Linked DNA regions of Homo sapiens: all the other regions are linked to region 5. The links are contacts of gene promoters, found by promoter capture Hi-C in blood cells and fetal thymus (Javierre and others, 2016). All regions are on one chromosome and are shown on one strand. The core of a region is centred on a gene start or on the middle of the fragment in contact, and the rest is flanking DNA. Distances in the headings are between cores, read along the strand shown. Region 1 overlaps SGMS1 (sphingomyelin synthase 1). Region 2 overlaps SGMS1 (sphingomyelin synthase 1). Region 3 overlaps SGMS1 (sphingomyelin synthase 1). Region 4 overlaps SGMS1 (sphingomyelin synthase 1). Region 5 holds the start of SGMS1 (sphingomyelin synthase 1). Region 6 overlaps SGMS1 (sphingomyelin synthase 1).

What was found. Contacts are between HindIII fragments. The CHiCAGO score rates a contact against its expected background, and 5 or more counts as called.
Region 1: a contact is called between a fragment that was not itself captured here and the fragment with the promoter of SGMS1 in region 5, in 13 of 17 cell types (total B cells, monocytes, M2 macrophages and 10 more). The highest score is 10.8, in total B cells.
Region 2: a fragment that was not itself captured here is called in contact with the fragment with the promoter of SGMS1 in region 5 in 5 of 17 cell types (monocytes, total B cells, M2 macrophages and 2 more); the score reaches 9.1 in monocytes.
Region 3: a contact is called between a fragment that was not itself captured here and the fragment with the promoter of SGMS1 in region 5, in 1 of 17 cell types (monocytes). The highest score is 5.1, in monocytes.
Region 4: a contact is called between a fragment that was not itself captured here and the fragment with the promoter of SGMS1 in region 5, in 2 of 17 cell types (monocytes and activated CD4 T cells). The highest score is 7.4, in monocytes.
Region 6: a fragment that was not itself captured here is called in contact with the fragment with the promoter of SGMS1 in region 5 in 16 of 17 cell types (monocytes, total B cells, activated CD4 T cells and 13 more); the score reaches 15.0 in monocytes.

What each region holds. Positions count from the first base shown.
Region 1 is chr10:50,448,694-50,451,393 of GRCh38, reverse strand. The region is part of intron 5 of SGMS1 (sphingomyelin synthase 1); the gene reads left to right. Among named protein-coding and RNA genes, the nearest start is that of SGMS1, 170 kb to the left of the region's middle. The HindIII fragment of the contact is 1,440 bases long and covers 634-2,073 here.
Region 2 is chr10:50,390,250-50,393,001 of GRCh38, reverse strand. All of the region lies in intron 6 of SGMS1 (sphingomyelin synthase 1), which reads left to right. Among named protein-coding and RNA genes, the nearest start is that of ASAH2, 140 kb to the right of the region's middle. RefSeq lists an enhancer at 1,479-2,005. The HindIII fragment of the contact is 3,672 bases long and covers 1-2,752 here.
Region 3 is chr10:50,482,207-50,484,906 of GRCh38, reverse strand. All of the region lies in intron 3 of SGMS1 (sphingomyelin synthase 1), which reads left to right. Among named protein-coding and RNA genes, the nearest start is that of SGMS1, 140 kb to the left of the region's middle. The HindIII fragment of the contact is 2,263 bases long and covers 223-2,485 here.
Region 4 is chr10:50,465,083-50,467,832 of GRCh38, reverse strand. It overlaps SGMS1 (sphingomyelin synthase 1), which reads left to right. Exons shown (of 11, transcript NM_147156.4): 4 at 901-943. Among named protein-coding and RNA genes, the nearest start is that of SGMS1, 160 kb to the left of the region's middle. The HindIII fragment of the contact is 8,199 bases long and covers 1-2,750 here.
Region 5 is chr10:50,622,601-50,625,300 of GRCh38, reverse strand. It overlaps SGMS1 (sphingomyelin synthase 1), which reads left to right and starts at 1,345. Exons shown (of 11, transcript NM_147156.4): 1 at 1,345-1,594. SGMS1-AS1 (SGMS1 antisense RNA 1) reads right to left here and starts at 350. Exons shown (of 4, transcript NR_126411.1): 1 at 110-350. RefSeq lists silencers at 178-807, 932-1,089, 1,138-1,397, 1,658-1,997 and enhancers at 948-1,476, 2,188-2,587. The HindIII fragment of the contact is 12,791 bases long and covers 1-2,700 here.
Region 6 is chr10:50,408,185-50,411,035 of GRCh38, reverse strand. The region is part of intron 6 of SGMS1 (sphingomyelin synthase 1); the gene reads left to right. Among named protein-coding and RNA genes, the nearest start is that of ASAH2, 160 kb to the right of the region's middle. RefSeq lists an enhancer at 556-1,056. The HindIII fragment of the contact is 3,180 bases long and covers 1-2,851 here.

The sequences.
Region 1 (2,700 bases), core at 104-2,603, 170 kb after region 5:
CCTGGTACAGTTATGTGTTTTGAAGTTTTTGAAAGTTAGTAGTGTGTTTTAAATCTCTGCCATGAGAGGAACCAGAAACATAACATGGTAAACATGCCAACTGGATTCATAGCATCACTTGTCAGCCACATGCTAACATAAGACTACATTATGATTAGAAATTTTAAAATTAATATTTGGAGGGCTTAGAAAGCTATATTTATTATGATTGTTAAGTAGCTGTGTTTGGAAGTTTTAATTTTTTAAAATGTGTAAGCTTGACAGATCTCCACATTTAGCCATTAAAAATCATTTTTTAATAATTATAATGTTTACTTCATATTGGAAATAGTTTCTAAGGAGGAAAATAGTTTGCATCTCATGTTATAAATATTTTCAGACTTTAAAATTACTTAATCCAAAGCATCCACTATTTGTTATTTTTTGTTCAAATTTTAGAATGTAAATATAAATTCTCCTAGAGTTTTCTTTTTCTTTTAACAGTTGTTTGTATTTTTAATGTAATGAGTATATTTCTGAATATTATATCAATGATATTTTTAATAAATTGAATAAATTTAAGTTGATAAGGAAAGTTTATCAAACTAATAATTTTAAAAGGTTTATTAGGAAATTATTAAAATGAAGAAAGCTTTCTTGATGTGGATAAGTCTTTTTCTCTTTTTTGTACTGGGTTTTTTAATCTTGGGTCACTTGATAATTTTTTTATATCACATTTAAAAATGTGTTGGATATTTTTATATTAACTTCCTATATTTATTTCTTCCTGAACTATTTTGGGAAAGAAACCATAATTGAAACACAAATTAGGTAACTAATAGCTTATTTATGGAATCTTTTTCTTCTAAAATGTTTCCTTGGAAAATATTAATTATTAGTATACTCACTTATAGACTCCCATACAGTCAGAAAAGCAGTTGTCAAGAAAAATATTTGAAGGCATGATTATTGTCCCAGCATTCTCACATTCTATTCCCTTTCCCTCTGTTAAAGTGAATAAATCAAAGAAAAATAAAATTGACTTTCTTGTCTGTTTCAGTTATTGGGCCCAGTTAGGGATGGCTAACCAGGGGTGAAGGGCACATAAATAACATCCACTTGTAATCCTTAATCTGCTTTCACACTCACTCCTCTCTTCCACTTTGTTTCCTGTAAAGTATAAATTTCTTAGTCTCATCATATAGAATAACCCAGAATGATATGATTTCACTACCATGGATTTATAGAAATTATTTCTTCTTCCACATTTTTGTTGCTGAATCAACTGTCTTGTGTCATCTCTGACACTGTTATTCTCATTATTAAAAAAAATTCTATTAATGGTTTCATATAGTCTTTTCTCTAAAGATAATATTAACTAAGTGCCTTTTATATTCTAAGGTCTTTATTTACATAATCTTGAATGAAGCCCTGGAATCTTGCAGGGACCTTCATTATCTTACTTCATTCTGTGGATTTTTAGTGACACTTCCATTTTCTAGGCCCTCCTTTAGACATTTTAGGCAGTGAGCAAAATTGACAAGTAGAAAAAAAAAAGAACAACCAACACGTGTATTATGGAGCTAATAGTCTAGTGGGAGAAAGATGACAAACTAGATGAATAAGGAAAATACATGTATGCTAAGTGGTGATCAGGGTTATCACTGATAACCTGTTGGATCAGAGGCTATGGCAAAAAATAAAGAAGAGAAGTGGATGGGGAGTGTAAGTCTAATTGGGGCATGTGTGTACACACACACACACACACACACACGTGCACACACTATTTGTAGAGAAGCCAGGAAGCCCTCATTGAGAAGGCAACATCTAAGTAAGGACATGAAGAAAGTGGAGGGGTGAGCCTGCTGTATCGGGGCAAGACCATCCTAGGAAAGAGTAGTTCAGGGTTAAGTACAGAGCCCTTGATACTTTTTTTATTTTGCAGGAAAGTGGAGCTCAGCCTTGTCTAAGACTACATAGTTCATAAGCACTGGACCTCTTGTTCAGACTCAGATCTGTCATAATCAAAGCCCTGCACTCCCTCCACCACCCCAGGTTACTCTAAAAGGAAATCATTGTTCATCTTAGGAAGCTTTCCAATTCCTAGCAGAATGTGTTATACATTGTGAACACTGAGGATTTAACCATATCTGTTCTCAAGCAAAAATAATACATAGGCAGGTAGGTAGATGGATTAGTTTTCTGTGCTCAACTAACGGAACCTCAAAATTATTACCTGGTTTTCCAGAGCTCTTAAGTTTAAGAAATAAATTTTAAGAGCTACACTTTCTGCTTTTTATTTTCTTTCTCTTTTTAAAACATATTGCTTGCTTTAAAAATTCCTCTGTTCTCATTTTATATGTGAGATTTAAAGACCTAAAAAAATTTCAATAGGTATGTAGTGGTATGTCATGTTGTCTTAATTTGCGTTTCCCTGATGATATATTATGTGGAGCCCTTTTCATATGCTTATTTTTATCCATAAGTCTTCTTTGGTGATTTCTCCATTAAGGTCTTCAGCCCATTTTTAAATCAAGTTAATTGTTTTCTTATTGTTAAGTTTTAAGAGTTCTTTGAATATTTTGGATAACAAGTCTTTATCAGTATGTCTTTTGCAAATATTTTCTCCTAGTGTGTATATGTCTTTTCATTCTTTTTTTTTTTTTTTTTTTGGCGGAGTTTCACTCTTGTTGCTCAGGCTGGAGTACAATGGCACCATGT
Region 2 (2,752 bases), core at 120-2,619, 230 kb after region 5:
AAAAAAAACTTTCTGGATGCTTTATGTTTGTATTATTTTTTAACCAAATTGGGTTCATACCAGATTAAATTTCAAGTTAAAGATAATTTATTATGGCAGTTTAAAAAAACACAGAATGTAAAGTGAATAGTAGAATGAACTCCATATCCGTATCTCCCAGCATTAACAATCAACTTTCTGGATTCTTGTTCTCTCTCTCCCTTTCCCCTACTTAGTTCTGGGGAAAGAGGGGCAGTATTTTAAGACAAATCCCAGACATCATACCATTTCACTCCCATACTTTGTTGTCATGTTCGTTTTTCAATTATTTACCTTTTGTCTGTTGACTTTTCTTTCTCTTGTTTCTGAAATAACACTTGGACTGTGCCCTGGTGATGTTATGAAGGTACACTTTCTGGTAGTGTTGTCCTTTGCATGGCGCTTGCTGGGCTGGTCTTCATGGATCCTGAGGAAGACAGCTCTGCTGGTATGCAGTTCACGTCTCAGTAGAACCTAGTCACCAGTAGAACCCAGAGGTATCACTGCTACCTCGCGACCTTGTACAGTTAGGTGAAAGACTGTGCACTTGTATACTATGTTTAGAAGAAATGGACTCAAATCTAAGTCATGATGATGTTTATTATTTTTTAAACCCATAAAGAAACCATGGCTTTGATTAAGACTCTCTAAATGGATATAGCTAGATTCTATTTTGTTTTTCTAATTACATAGACAGAAAACTTTTGACATTACAAATTAATCATTTATAAGTTTGCCATCTTTTGAGTACAGTAATAATTTATTTGTGCAACATTTCAGTTTTTTTTTTTTTAACTTTTACTTTAGGTTCAGAGTACATGTGCAGGTTTGTTATATAGGTAAATTGCGTGTCATGGGGATTTGGCGTACAGACCATTTCATCAACCAGGTAATAAGTATAGTACTCGACAGGTAGTTTTTCAAGCCTGACCTTCCTCCCACCCTCCACCCTCAAGTAGGCCCTGGTGTCTGTTGTTCCCTTCTTTCTGTCCGTGTGTACTCAGTGTTTAGCTTCCACTTATAAGTGAGAGCATGCACTATTTGGTTTTCTGCTCCTGCATTACTTCACTTACGATAATGACCTCCAGCTCCATCCATGTTGCTGCAAAGGACATGATCTCATTCTTTTTTTTTTTTTTTTTTAATGATTGCATAATGTTCCATGGCATATATATACACCACATTTTCCTTATCCCGTCTATCATTGATGGACATTTAGGTTGGTTCCACATCTTTGCCATTGTGAATAGTGCTATGATGAACATACATGTGCACATTCTTTATGATAGAACAATTTATATTCCTTTGGGTAAATACCCAATAATGGGATTACTAGGTCTAATGGTAATTCTGTTTTACGTTCTTCGAGAAATCACCAAACTGCTTTCCACAATAGTTGAACTAATTTACATTCCCACCAGCGGTGTGTAAGTGTTCCCTTTTCTCCACAATCTTGCCAGTATCTGTTACTTTTGGCTTTTTAATAATAGCCATTCTGACTAGTGTGAGATGGTATTATTGTGGCTTTGATTTGCATTTCTCTAATGATTGGCAATGCTGAGCATTTTTCCATATGCTTATTGGCTGCATGTGTGTCTTCTTTTAAAAAAAATTCAGCTTTTAAAAGTTTCCATGTAAGTTATCATGTTCAAGTCCCACAACAGCACTGCAAGTAAGGAAAAGTATTAAATTCCTCCCAGTTAAGTCAGAGAAAAGTGGAAGATGAGAGGGGATTAGTTAATGACTTGATTTTAGGTCTGTGGTCTCCTAGACTAGAAGTCCTTTCTCTTTTAAATGTGTTTTGAGTTGCTTTGGAATGGTTTTGAAATGGAAATGTGCCTTGTTCTTTATATTTGTTTCTTCAAAGTTTTGTCTTTTGTTTGGAAAATTCTCAATACCTCTGACCAGGTCTTGGAGATGCTCGGGCAAACTACACGCTTCTTGGCATCCTATTCCAGGACAAGGCCAGGGCAGAGTGCATAGCCCCTCTTGGAGCCGTTTTATTCCTGACATTACCCTCTCTCCGCTATGACTTTGGTTTCTACCTCTCCACTGCTACCCCAGACCCAGGCTGTGACCATTACCAGGGATTTTTATTTGGGTATGCTGGTGACTTTTGTGACAGAGTGGAATTTATTTGAGCCTAAAGTGTCTGGAATTTTTCCTGGAGACTCAAGATACTTGATACAGTAAAGAAATTGTTCTCAGATTCCTCTATCCTTGTAGACATTTTGGTTCAAGCACTTAATTGCCCAATTTCTTTCAAAGGGAGTAATTCCAAAAAAGATTTTTAAAGTATCTAGACATGAACATTCTAATTGTTAGATATTAATTTTTTTTTCTTAAGAGGCAGGGTCTTGTTCCATTACCTAGGCAGGAGTGCAGTGGCACGATCACAGCTCACTGCAGCTTCCAACTCCTGGGTTCAAGCCATCCTCCTGTTCCAGCCTTCCACAGAGCTAGGACTACAGACTACAGGTGTGTGCTACCACGCCCAGCTGACATGAACATTCTATTGACTTAAATTCCTCTGGGGAATAGAGTAATGCTTCAGGGTTTATGCTTTATTCAAAACCAAAGTTCTAGTTTTAACAAATAAAACAAAGTTCAGCTTTATTCAGTAAAGCATAAAAGAAAATAAATTTCTATACCAGCAATCTAAACATTTGTGTACTTTGTTTCTCCCAAAGAGAAACATCAGTTAAAATTGATTTCCTGCTCAAATGTCTTGTCT
Region 3 (2,700 bases), core at 105-2,604, 140 kb after region 5:
TTATTATTTTGAGGTATGTTCTTTTAATACCTAGTTTATTGAGAGTTTTTAACATGAAGGGATGTTGAATTTTGTTGAAGGCTTGTTCTGTGTCTATTGATATAATCATGTGGTTTTTGTCTTTAGTTTAGTTTATGTGATGAATTATCTTTATTGATTTGTATATGTTGAACCAGCCTTGCATTCCAGGGATGAAGCCAGCTCGATCATGGTGGGTAAGCTTTTGATGTGCTTCTGGATTCAGTTTGCCAGTATTTTGTTGGGGACTTTTGCATAGATGTTCATCAAGGATATTGGCCTGAAGGTTTCTTTTTTTGTATTTTCTCTGCCAGGTTTTGGTATCAAGATGATGCTGGCCTCATAAAATGAGTTAGGGAGGAGTTTCTCCTCTTTGATTGTTTGGAATAGTTTCAGAAGAAATACTACCAGCTCCTCTTTGTACCTCTGGTAGGATTCAGCTGTGAATCCGTCTGGTCCTGGGTTTGTTTGATTGCTAGGCTATTAATTATTGCCTCAATTTCAGAACTTGTTATTGGTCTATTAAGGGAGTCAATTTCTTTCTGGTTTAGTCTTGGGAGGGTGTATATGTCCAGGAATTTATCCATTTCTTCTAGATTTTCTAAATTTTTTTTGCATAGAGGTGTTTATGGTATTCTCTGATGGTTGTTTGTATTTCTTTGGGGTCAGTGGTGATATTCCCTTTATCATTTTTTATTTTGTCTAGTTGATTCTTCTCTTTTTCTTCTTTATTAGTCTAGCTAGTGGTGTATCTATTTTATTAATATTTTCAAAAAAAGCCAGCTCCTGTATTTGTTGATTTTTTGAAGGGTTTTTTTGCATCTCTATCTCCTTCAGTTCTGCTCTGATCTTGGTTATTTTTGTCTCCTGCTAGCTTTGGGGTTTGTTTGCTCTTTCTTCTCTAGTTCTTTTACTTATGATGTTAGCATGTCAATTTGGGATCTTTCTAGATTTTTGATGTGGTCATTTAATGCTATAAATTTCCCTCTTAACACTGCTTTAGCTGTGTCCCAGAGGTTCTGGTATGTTGTCTCTTTGTTCTCACTAGTTTCAAAGAACTTCTTGGTTTCTTCCTTGATTTCATTATTTACTCAGGAGTCATTCAGGAGCAGGTTGATCAATTTCCATATAGTTGTGTGGTTTTGAGTGAGTTTCTTAATCTTGAGTTCTAATTTGATTTTGCTGTGGTCTGAGAGACTGTTTGTTATGATTTCAGCTCTTTTTCATTTGCTGAGGAGTGTTTTACTTCTAATTATGTAATCAATTTTAGAGTAAGTTGCCATGTGGCACCGAGAAGAATGTATATTCTTTTGTTTTGGGGAGGAGAGTTCTATAGATATCTATCAGGTCCACTTGATTCAGAGCTGAGTTCAAGTCCTGAATATCTTTGTTAATTTTCTCTCTCAGTGATCTGTCTAATATTGACAGTGGAGTGTTAAAGTCACCCACTGTTATCATGAGGGAGTCTAAGTCTCTTTATAGGTCTTTAAGAACTTGTTTTATGAATCTGGCCAGGCACGCTGGCTCATGCTTGTAATCCCAGCACCTTGTGGGGCTGAGGTGGGTGGATCACTTGAGGTCAGGAGTTCAAGACCAGCCTGGACAACATGGTGAAACCCTGCCTCTACTAAAAATACAAAAATTAGCCAAGTATGGTGGTGCATGCCTCTAATCCCAGCCACTCAGGAGGCTGAGGCAGGAGAATCGCTTGAACCCAGGAGGCAGAGGTTGTAGTGAGCCGAGATCATGCCACTGCACTCCAGCCTGGGCGATAGAGCGAGACTGTGTCTCAAAAAACACAAAAAACAAAAAACCCCTCAAAACTTGTTTTTTTATGAATTCGGGTGCTCCTGTATTGGGTGCATATATATGTTTAGGATAATTAGCTCTTCTTGTGGAATTGAACCCTTTACCATTATGTAATGCCTTTCTTGTCTTGGTTGATCTTTGTTGGTTTGAAGCCTGTTTGTCAGAAACTAGGATTGCAACCCCTGCCTTTTTCTGCCTTCCATTTGCTTGGTAAATTTTCCTTCATCCCTTTATTTTGAGCCTATGTGTATCTTTGCACGTGAGATGTGTCTCTTGAATACAGTGCACAGATGGGTCATGACTCTTTATCCAGCTTGCCATTCTGTGTCTTTTAATTGGGGCATTTAGTCCATTTACATTTAAGGATAGTAGTGTTATGTGTGAATTTGATCCTGTCAAATGATCCTAGCCTCATGATGCTAGCTGGTTATTTTGCAGACTTGTTAATGTAGTTGCTTCATAGTGTCATTGGTTTGTGTACTTCAGTGTGATTTTGTAGTGACTGGTAATGCTTTTTCCTTTCTGTATTTCATGCTTCCTTCAGGAATTCTCGCAAGGCAGGCCTGGTGATGACAAATTCCCTCAGTGTTTCGAAAAGGATTTTATTTTCCTTTGCTTATGCCTGAAAAGGATTTTATTTTCCTTTGCTTATGAAGCTTAGTTTGGCCGTATATGAAATTCTGGGTTGGAAATTCTTTTCTTTAAGAATGTTGAATAATGGCCCCCAATCTCTTCTGGCTTGTAGGGTTTCCACTGAGAGTTCTGCTGTTAGTCTGATTGGCTTCCCTTTGTAGGTTACCTGGCCTTTCTCTCTGGCTTCCCTTAACATTTTTTCCTTCACTTTGACCTTGGAGAATCTGATGATTATGTGTC
Region 4 (2,750 bases), core at 123-2,622, 160 kb after region 5:
ACATCTTTCTGAAATAATACCACTTTGCAGTCAGCCACTACTTGCTCCCCTTTCCTTAAAGCATTTTATTTTTGTCCAGATACAGGGATTCTTAGACTCCCAGACAGATCCCTAAATAATTATACCTAGCCCAACAGGCAAAACTAATGTGTGCTATTTGAAGGCAGGGCAGTGTTGACTTTTTGGGAGAGTGGTGTTCACTTTAAGAAAATTTATTAAGCCACCCAAGATTTCTGGGCTTACTAATTTTTTAAAAAATAGGCTTTTTCCCCTTTCTGCATGTACCCTAATTCATGTGTATATTTTACTTACAAAGGGTCATATTTCATTTTTAGCTGAGAAAGTCTTTCATGAAATAAAACATGGAAGCATTTTTAAGCCTTTAGGGTGATGTGGGTTAGAGTTATTTATAAGCTGTTTGATCATACACTTATGTATGTGGTCTGTGGTTGTTCCACTTAACTTGCTATTGATTGCATTTTGGTAAAAATGAAAATTTATCCCAGGGTGGTAATTATTATGGTTTGAAAAATACGCTTTCTTGCTTCTTTATCTTTTTTATATTGTCAGTTAGCAGTTATTTACCTAAATTGAGAGGAGATAATTTATAAAGGTCCATGGTTTTAAAACTCATGTTATACCATCAGATGCATTTGGTGTGCAGTTTTTTTATTGGCATTGGATTTGCATGCTTGTTTCTGCTTGGCGTTGTCTAATAGAAGTGTACTCTGAATACCATGACAGCCAGAAATTAGTTGGGAATTGGTGAAATAATGCTTTTTTTTTCCTATGTATACGTAACAAGAAGTGAATAATAGTTAACTTGGATTTTAGTTTTTTTTCTTATAAGCAGCTCATTGCACAAAGAATGCACTTTAATTTACTTATTACTTCTTCTAGATTGGAAAGAAGACTGATGAAGAAAAATAACAGCATGATTCAGGTAAACTGATTTTTAAATTATTTACCTTTTATGCTTAATTTGTATTTTCTGTGTTCTCCCAATGAGAGGATCTAAACAAACAATTTTTGTGGGCAATTGGAATATATAAGGAATATCTTGGGGATATAGATGAAATAGTCAAATACATATTACCATTTAATTAATTTAGTTATGTACATATTTTGAACAAGTATGTATTTATACAAAATGGGATATTATAACTAATGCTTTTTTCCTACCCCAGAATAATTTTCTTCCAACTCTTTACATACATATCTGACATCAGTGTCTTCATTATTTGAGTCACATTTTTTAAGCATTCAATATTATTTTCCACAGCCTGTTATCATTTTAGGTGTTTGCAGTACAGCACTTTTGGAGTCTATGTATGGCACTCTATTTGGAAATTTTATCCCAAGCCACAAGTAATCATTTGCATAATGTTAGGACAGTTGCTGTTTTCATTCTTTCTGTGTAGATGAACATTGAAGATCTCTACTGTGTAACAATTTGTAGAACTGCTTTCTTAAGTCTTTCTCCCTTCCTCCCTCCTTTCCTTCCTTCCTTCTTTCCTTTCATTTATTTATTTTATTTGTTTAGAGGTAATTGCATGTATATTGTTTAAGAATTCAAATAGTACTCTAATAGCCATTCTTTGTTCTTTTTATACTCTTATTGCCCCTTTGCCTAAAGATAGCCCTTTTCAATCCTTTTAGTTGTATTTTCCAGTATTTGTCTACCTATTTCTAAACAACACATCATATGCTCTAAGTGCCATTTACTGATTCCTTTTAAAATCTTAGACTTATGCATTGATTTCCTGCCGGGGAGTTCTCTCTCATAGACCACCCTTTACCCTTACTACATACCTACTTTTCCTGTCTCTTTATTTTCTTGATGCAGTCATTGTTACAGTCTATATTTAGATAAGTATTAATGTCTACTTTATTATTTTTTTTGTGGCTGAGCTCTGTGATATAAGTTGAGATGTCTCAAGTCATTCTGCCTCCAAGTTGGTTGTTTGTGAACTGTTTTTTTTTTGTCTCTGGAAAATGTTTCATGCTTTTCTTTATGCCCAGAATTCTGCAGTTTCATATTGGGACACTTTTTGTTGTTTTTGTCCTCTCAGCTTGGAAACTGATGTCTCTCAATTTGTAAATTTTCTTGTACTATTTCTTTGATAATTTCCCCCCCATTCTCTCTTTTCTTAGTCTGTTAGTTGGGTATTTTCACCTACTAGTTTGATCTCTAATTTTCTTAAGTCTTACTCTTAGCTATTTTCCATCTTTCTGTGTTTTTCTTCAACTTTCTGAGAGGTTTTCTTAGTATCAATTGAATTTTTAATTTCTGCTAGCAGGTTTGTAATTTTGAACTTAATTTTTGAGGGTCTATGGATATTTTGTTTTTAAAATTAGGATCCTGTTTTTGTTTGATAGATGCAATATTTTCTCATTTTTTTTTGAGAATATGAATTGAATTATTTTGCTGTTTTTTGCTGTTCTTTGCACATTTTCCTGTGTGTTCCCTTTATCTTCTTGTTTTGATCCCTGATTTTAATGTTAAAGGCTCTTCCCAAATGAGTGCTGGGGATTTAGTTGTCTGTTCATACTTAAGAGTGAGACAATACAAAATGGACCGCAAATTTGTTACGTGGTTGGCTTCACTCTAAGGTCTTTGGGCAGAGACCTTACTGGCCATTTCAGTGGGTGATTATCATGTATCAAAATCTGCAGATTTTTTTCCTTGGACCTTTCAGTTTCTCCAAAATGGAATTCTTTGTTTACTTTTTTTGTGGAGTGTAAGCCTA
Region 5 (2,700 bases), core at 96-2,595:
GGACTAGGTTAGAACCGGGAGGCAGCCAGAGCAGCGCTCTCGCTGGATAACGGAAGAGGACTCCCTCGCCAACTTCCGCCTCTGGGGAAAAGCGGGGACCCTCCGCCACCTGAGTTCTGTTGTCTCGATTTCGCCGCAGTTTGCTTCTGGCCCGGGCGAGAACCTGTCCTCTGGGCAAGCCAGGGGTCGGTACAGGACTCCTATACCCCAAGGCGAGGCGGAGGCAGGTGCCGAGCGGTGGCCAGAGTCCGGCGCCCAAAGCCCGATGGGAGGGCGTGGCGGGGGAGGACGGTCCCGCCAGCTCCCAGGTCGGTTCCGAGCGCCCGCGGCCCGATGGCCGGGCGGAAGATGGCTGCCCGGAGCGCCGCGGACAGTCACGTGGTACGCCGGGCCCGTAGCCGCGCCCCTTCCCCCGCTCGCCAAGTCCCCGACCCCGCGGGAGGCACGGCCTCGGGCTGCCTGTAGGCCACCGAGGTGCGGCGCGGGCCGGCCAGGGACGGCGGGCATCGGGGCGGGAAGGCCAGCTCTCCCCGCTGTCCATCCTAACTTGGGCGCTGGGGCTTCGCTCGGGGAGCAGAGGAAAACCTTCCTTCAGGCGACTTGCACCACGTGGGGCTACTGGGCATGCGCGGGCTCCGACCCCGGCCTAGCCGCTCTCCGGGTTTTCGCCGCAGCTCGGAGGGGCGGCGGAAGGTGGGCCCCAGGCGGGGCGGGGCGGCTCTGACGCAGTCGGAGTTTTCACCTCGCGCGGTTAGAGCTCTTGCGCCTCCGTCGCGCTCCCAGGCGTCGCCAGAGGCTTTTTTTTTCTGTTGTGGGAGAAAGATGAGAGTCTATGGTTAGAGGTTTGAAAATGGGCCGAATAGTCAGGTCGGCCGTTTCCTAGGAATGATCCATTGGGCATTAATCCCAAGTGTCGCAGCCCTTGGGCTTGGTGGGAAAAAGAATCCAGTAGTAGTTCGCAAACTCGTGCCTGGCTTCCAGCAGGCTGAGTTTGCGTTCCCTGCTTTGTGACCAGCTCTAGCGGCTCCCGTCTCCGGCCCTGCCCCAAGGGATTTACCGTCCCAGATTGTAAAATCTGGCTCCCGCTAGGCCTTACTTAGTGGGCCCCTAAAAACGCTGGGGAAAGCGCCCGCCTCCTCAGTTTCCCATTACTTGAAAGTAAAATTCAAGGGGCCCAAACTGCGACTGTCCCTTGGTTCGGGGTCCCGCTCGGTCCCGGGAGGAGCCCCCCGCGGACCCCGCCCGGCCGGCCCGCCCCCCCGGCCGCAGTGAACACCCGGAGGAGCGGAGTCGCGTCGCGCGGGAAGCCGGGCCGGCTCGGGCAGCGGACTGGGCATGCTCGGCAGCCCGGGAGGCTCGCGGTGGCAAGTCGAAAGCGTTCGCACCAGCGGGGCAGCGGCTGCGGGCGGCAGGCGGCGGGCAGGTCGGGAGTGAGAAGGACCGGCCTGGGCTGACTGCTCTCCCCTCGCGCCTAGGGAGCCGGTCGGAGAGCGCGATTGGGGTGCGGAGCCCCGACGCTGCCCTGCCCCGGATTTCATTCCGCGGCGGGGGCTCCGCGAGCGGAATTCCGGCGGCTGCCGTGACTCCAGTGCAAGTGAGTCGTGGGGCAGGGACAGACAGCCGGCCTCACGGTTGCGGGGGCCGATCGGACACCTGTCTCGCGGGCCCGGCCTTATGCCGGGGAGCAGCGGGCGGGCTGCTCTGGGGCGAGGGGGCGTGAGCGCAGCCCGCGCGGTGCCGCGCGCGTACCTGGCGGGCAGTCCTCCAGAGCTGCTGCTCCCGTGGGTGGTCACAGCGGGGAGGTCCGGCGGCCGGGATCCGGGCTCGGAGGGGGCGGGCCGCCGGCGGGGCTCCCCGGCTAAGTTGGGGCGGGGAGGAAGGAGGAGGCGTCAGTGGGCACCTTTTCAGAGCTACTGCGTGCGGGCTGGAAGGCTGCCTGGTGTCGGATTGGGGCGATCGGGAGGCGGGGAGCCTTTGGGCAGTAGCCCGCCCGGGGTCCGGAGACCCCCACCCAGGGGCCGACTCCAATCACGGCTCCACCCCCACAGCCTAGGTGGCGGTGTGACAGTTGGTACCTTCGGTCCAGATCGCAGCCGGCCAGGCGCCCACTATTTCGGGATCCCCCCACCGTAGCCCCTCGATGCCCCCTGACGACAAAACAGGTGGGACCCCCCCTCCCCGAGGAGCGCTCCCCTTCTCTCCAGGCCGCGTAACAGCCCGCCAGGCTCGCGGGCGGCTCTGAGACCCCGCAGGGCTGCCCCCGCGGGGCGGGGACGTTTAGGGGCAAGGCCTGGAGGGGAATCGGCGCAGCCCAGAACTGGACAGTCTCTCCAGGACGCCGCTTTTCCGTGACAGAGGGGGTCTGCGCTATCCCCCAGCGACGTGTCAAGGGCAAAACAGCAGCAGCAGCGGCTGCCTCTCCCACCGTCTTAACCCGAACTCGGGCTTGTGGCGTCCTCCCGTGGGCCGGATAGAGTGCCCTAGTCCAGCTAACGGATTCAGCCTGGAGCGTTCTGGTGAATGCTGCTTTCCTCTTTGGTGCCGCGAAGTAGAAATCGGGATAAGGGTTGTCATGGCCGGAGGGAGCGAAGAGAATCCAGGCAGGTGCTTCTCAGATGTTTCTTTTCACCTTCAAACAGTACAGACTTCAGCGGTACACGCTTACGAAACCAAGTGAAGGCTGCTTTCTGAAAGGGAAGT
Region 6 (2,851 bases), core at 235-2,734, 210 kb after region 5:
CAATTTGGAAAGAAAGACCTGACTCCAAAAGAAATTATTAAACTAACCTATAATGAATGTATCACAGCAAACATACAACAAGAGACCATAACTTGGTTATAGAACTATAACTTGATTAAAGGAACTAACATGTTATTCTGAGAGGGAAATTGTCTGAAGAGGAATTTAGAGAAGTAGAACTTGAAGACTGGGATGGGAGACTGAATTTGAGAGGCCAACTTGGCCTAGCTACAGAGAAGGTGCCTTACCCCTAGGGCGGCATTACCAGGTCTCCATATGGGTCTTCCCCTATGGTGGGGCTGTCTGAGGGCTTTTGAAATCTGCCTAAGTTCCAAATCTGAATTAGAGATTGGTCTTGCCCTCATCGGTGAATACCGCTGAGTCCTCCTTAACCTCACAGTGCACAGTGTCAGGCCACACAGGAAGACACAGAACATATTTTTGTTCCATGCCCACTATGCATCCTTCTCATGGTAATTTGGCCACTTCATGTAACTATGCTTTTCAGAGATCTGCCATCAGACATGCCAGCAAACAACCCACCTGATGGTTTACATTCTCACAATAAGGTATTCAGCTCGAGTTTTTACTTTAATGTCACCACAAGTGTGGTCAGTATGAATGCTTTTCTGATCATTGTATTTATAAATTTGCAAGACTAAAGGACAGCCTTGGACTATGTGAGTCTCCCCAGATAACACTGCACTCTAAGGACCAGCTGGCTTCCCCAGGTTTGCTTGTCTTCACCTTGAATGCCCTTTCCTATCTGACTTGCAACACAAGAGTGTCATGACCATCATAATATTATTATCTTTTTTATTGCAATTTAGAAAACGTTGAGAAGAAAAATGAATGTCATTGAGTGCTTATTCATGTGGGAAATGTGGTGTTCTGTTCTGTGAGTGACTCATGTAAACGAGTAAAAGAAACTAGAGTACATTGTTAAAATTACAAGGTAAACTAATTCCTACTTTGCTAGTTAGTGTGTCCTATAATTCTCATTTAAATTGCACAGATTACTAAACAACTACAGAAATTTTCACCCAAAGCAGTTCATAGACAAAATTTCACAGAATTTTTCAGTGTGATTTTATATTGTTAAAATTCTTGTAGACTTATGAAATATACTTTCATTTGGTTCTCAGGATAATAGGCTGTATATAGTTTCTTAGGCATTTTGGGTTCCAGAGCCTGTGGTACTTTCCTATATAATTGTCCTTTTTATATTCTTATATTCCCGTTGATATATTGAAAGAGTTTCCTGAAGTTATCTGTTCCTATATAATTGTCCTCTTTATAGTCTTATATTCCCGTTGATATATCGAAAGAGTTTCCTGAAGTTATCTATTGCTAATATTTAGCATTTACTTTTAGGAGCAAAATTCTCAGGAGAATTGAGAAATCTGTTGTCATTTATTTTGATTATGTCCAAGTAAAGGTCAGAGATATGAAATTAAATGTTTGTAACTGACAAACTAGTCATCACAGTCTACTTCAAAGGGAATGTCTGTCACAGTTTCAGTAGTGCCAGGGTACATAGAGATATGTTGTATGAAAACCATATGGTCTTGGGAAGACTGTAGAGGAATCCTTTTGGGAAAAGAGTATGGAATGGACAGGAACAGTTCAGGGAATAAATGGGATTATATCCAGCGAGGTTGAAGAATAGGAAAAACAGAAACATCCAGTTAGAATAAGTTTTTGTGTTTGATAGCAGAGTAGGGTGACTATAGTTAACAACAATGTATTGTATATTTTGATGTAGCTAGGTGAGAGGACTTGAAATGTTCCCAGCACATGGAAATAATAAATACTGGAGGTCATGGATATCTCAAATACTTTGAGTTGATCATCACAGTCTATGCATGCAAAAACTATCACATGTACCCCATAAATATGTGCAAATATTGTGTATCAATAAAATAAAAAGAAAAGGAAAAATAAAGCAATAATTCTAACATTACCTCTTTCCAAAGTGAGTGCCTCTCACTACTGGGTCTGGACTCTAATCTATATGAATAAAATGAATGGATTTTATTCCCTAAGAATTTGTTAACTAAGTTATCTGAGTAAGTTATATGTCCATGTTTGTAGCCAGTAGCAGGAGGGAGGTCAGGCAGGCTAGGGGTTGTTATAATCTTTTTTTGTTTTGTTTTGTTTTGAGATAGAGTCTCGCTCTGTCAGCCATGCTGGAGTGCGATGGTACAATCATGGCTTACTGCAGCATGAACTCCCAAGCTCAAATGATTCTCCTGCCTCAACTGCCCCCCCGACCCAATAGCTGGGATACTTGAGACGCACCCCAGTAGCTGGGACTACAGGCATGCACCACCATGCCCTGCTATTTTTTTTTTAAATGGAGTCTCACTCTGTCACCCAGGCTGAAGTACAGTGGTGTGATCTCAGCTCACTGCAACCTCTGCCTCCCAGGTTCAAGCGATTCTCCTGCCTCAGCCTCCTGAGTAGCTGGGACTACAGGTGCGTGCCACCACACCCAGCTAATTTTTTGTATTTTTAGTAGAGATGGGGTTTCACCGTGTTAGCCAGGAGCCTCGCTAATTAAAAAAAGTTTTTATTTTGTTTTTTTTTTTTTTTTTTTTTTTTAAGAGATGAGGTCTCAGTATATTGCCCAGGCTGGTCTCTGGGCTCAATCATTCCTTCTACCTTTGCCTCCCAGAGTATTGGGATTACAGGCGTGAGCCACTGCACCTGCCAGTTATAATGTTTTTAAACTGTGACTAGAATGAATAAAAGGGCTAGTATTTCTATGTTGCTTTTCTCTATACCTACTTGTTCCCTGCCAAAGCATACAAGAACACCACCAGCAGCAGAAGGCCTTCCTCAGATTACA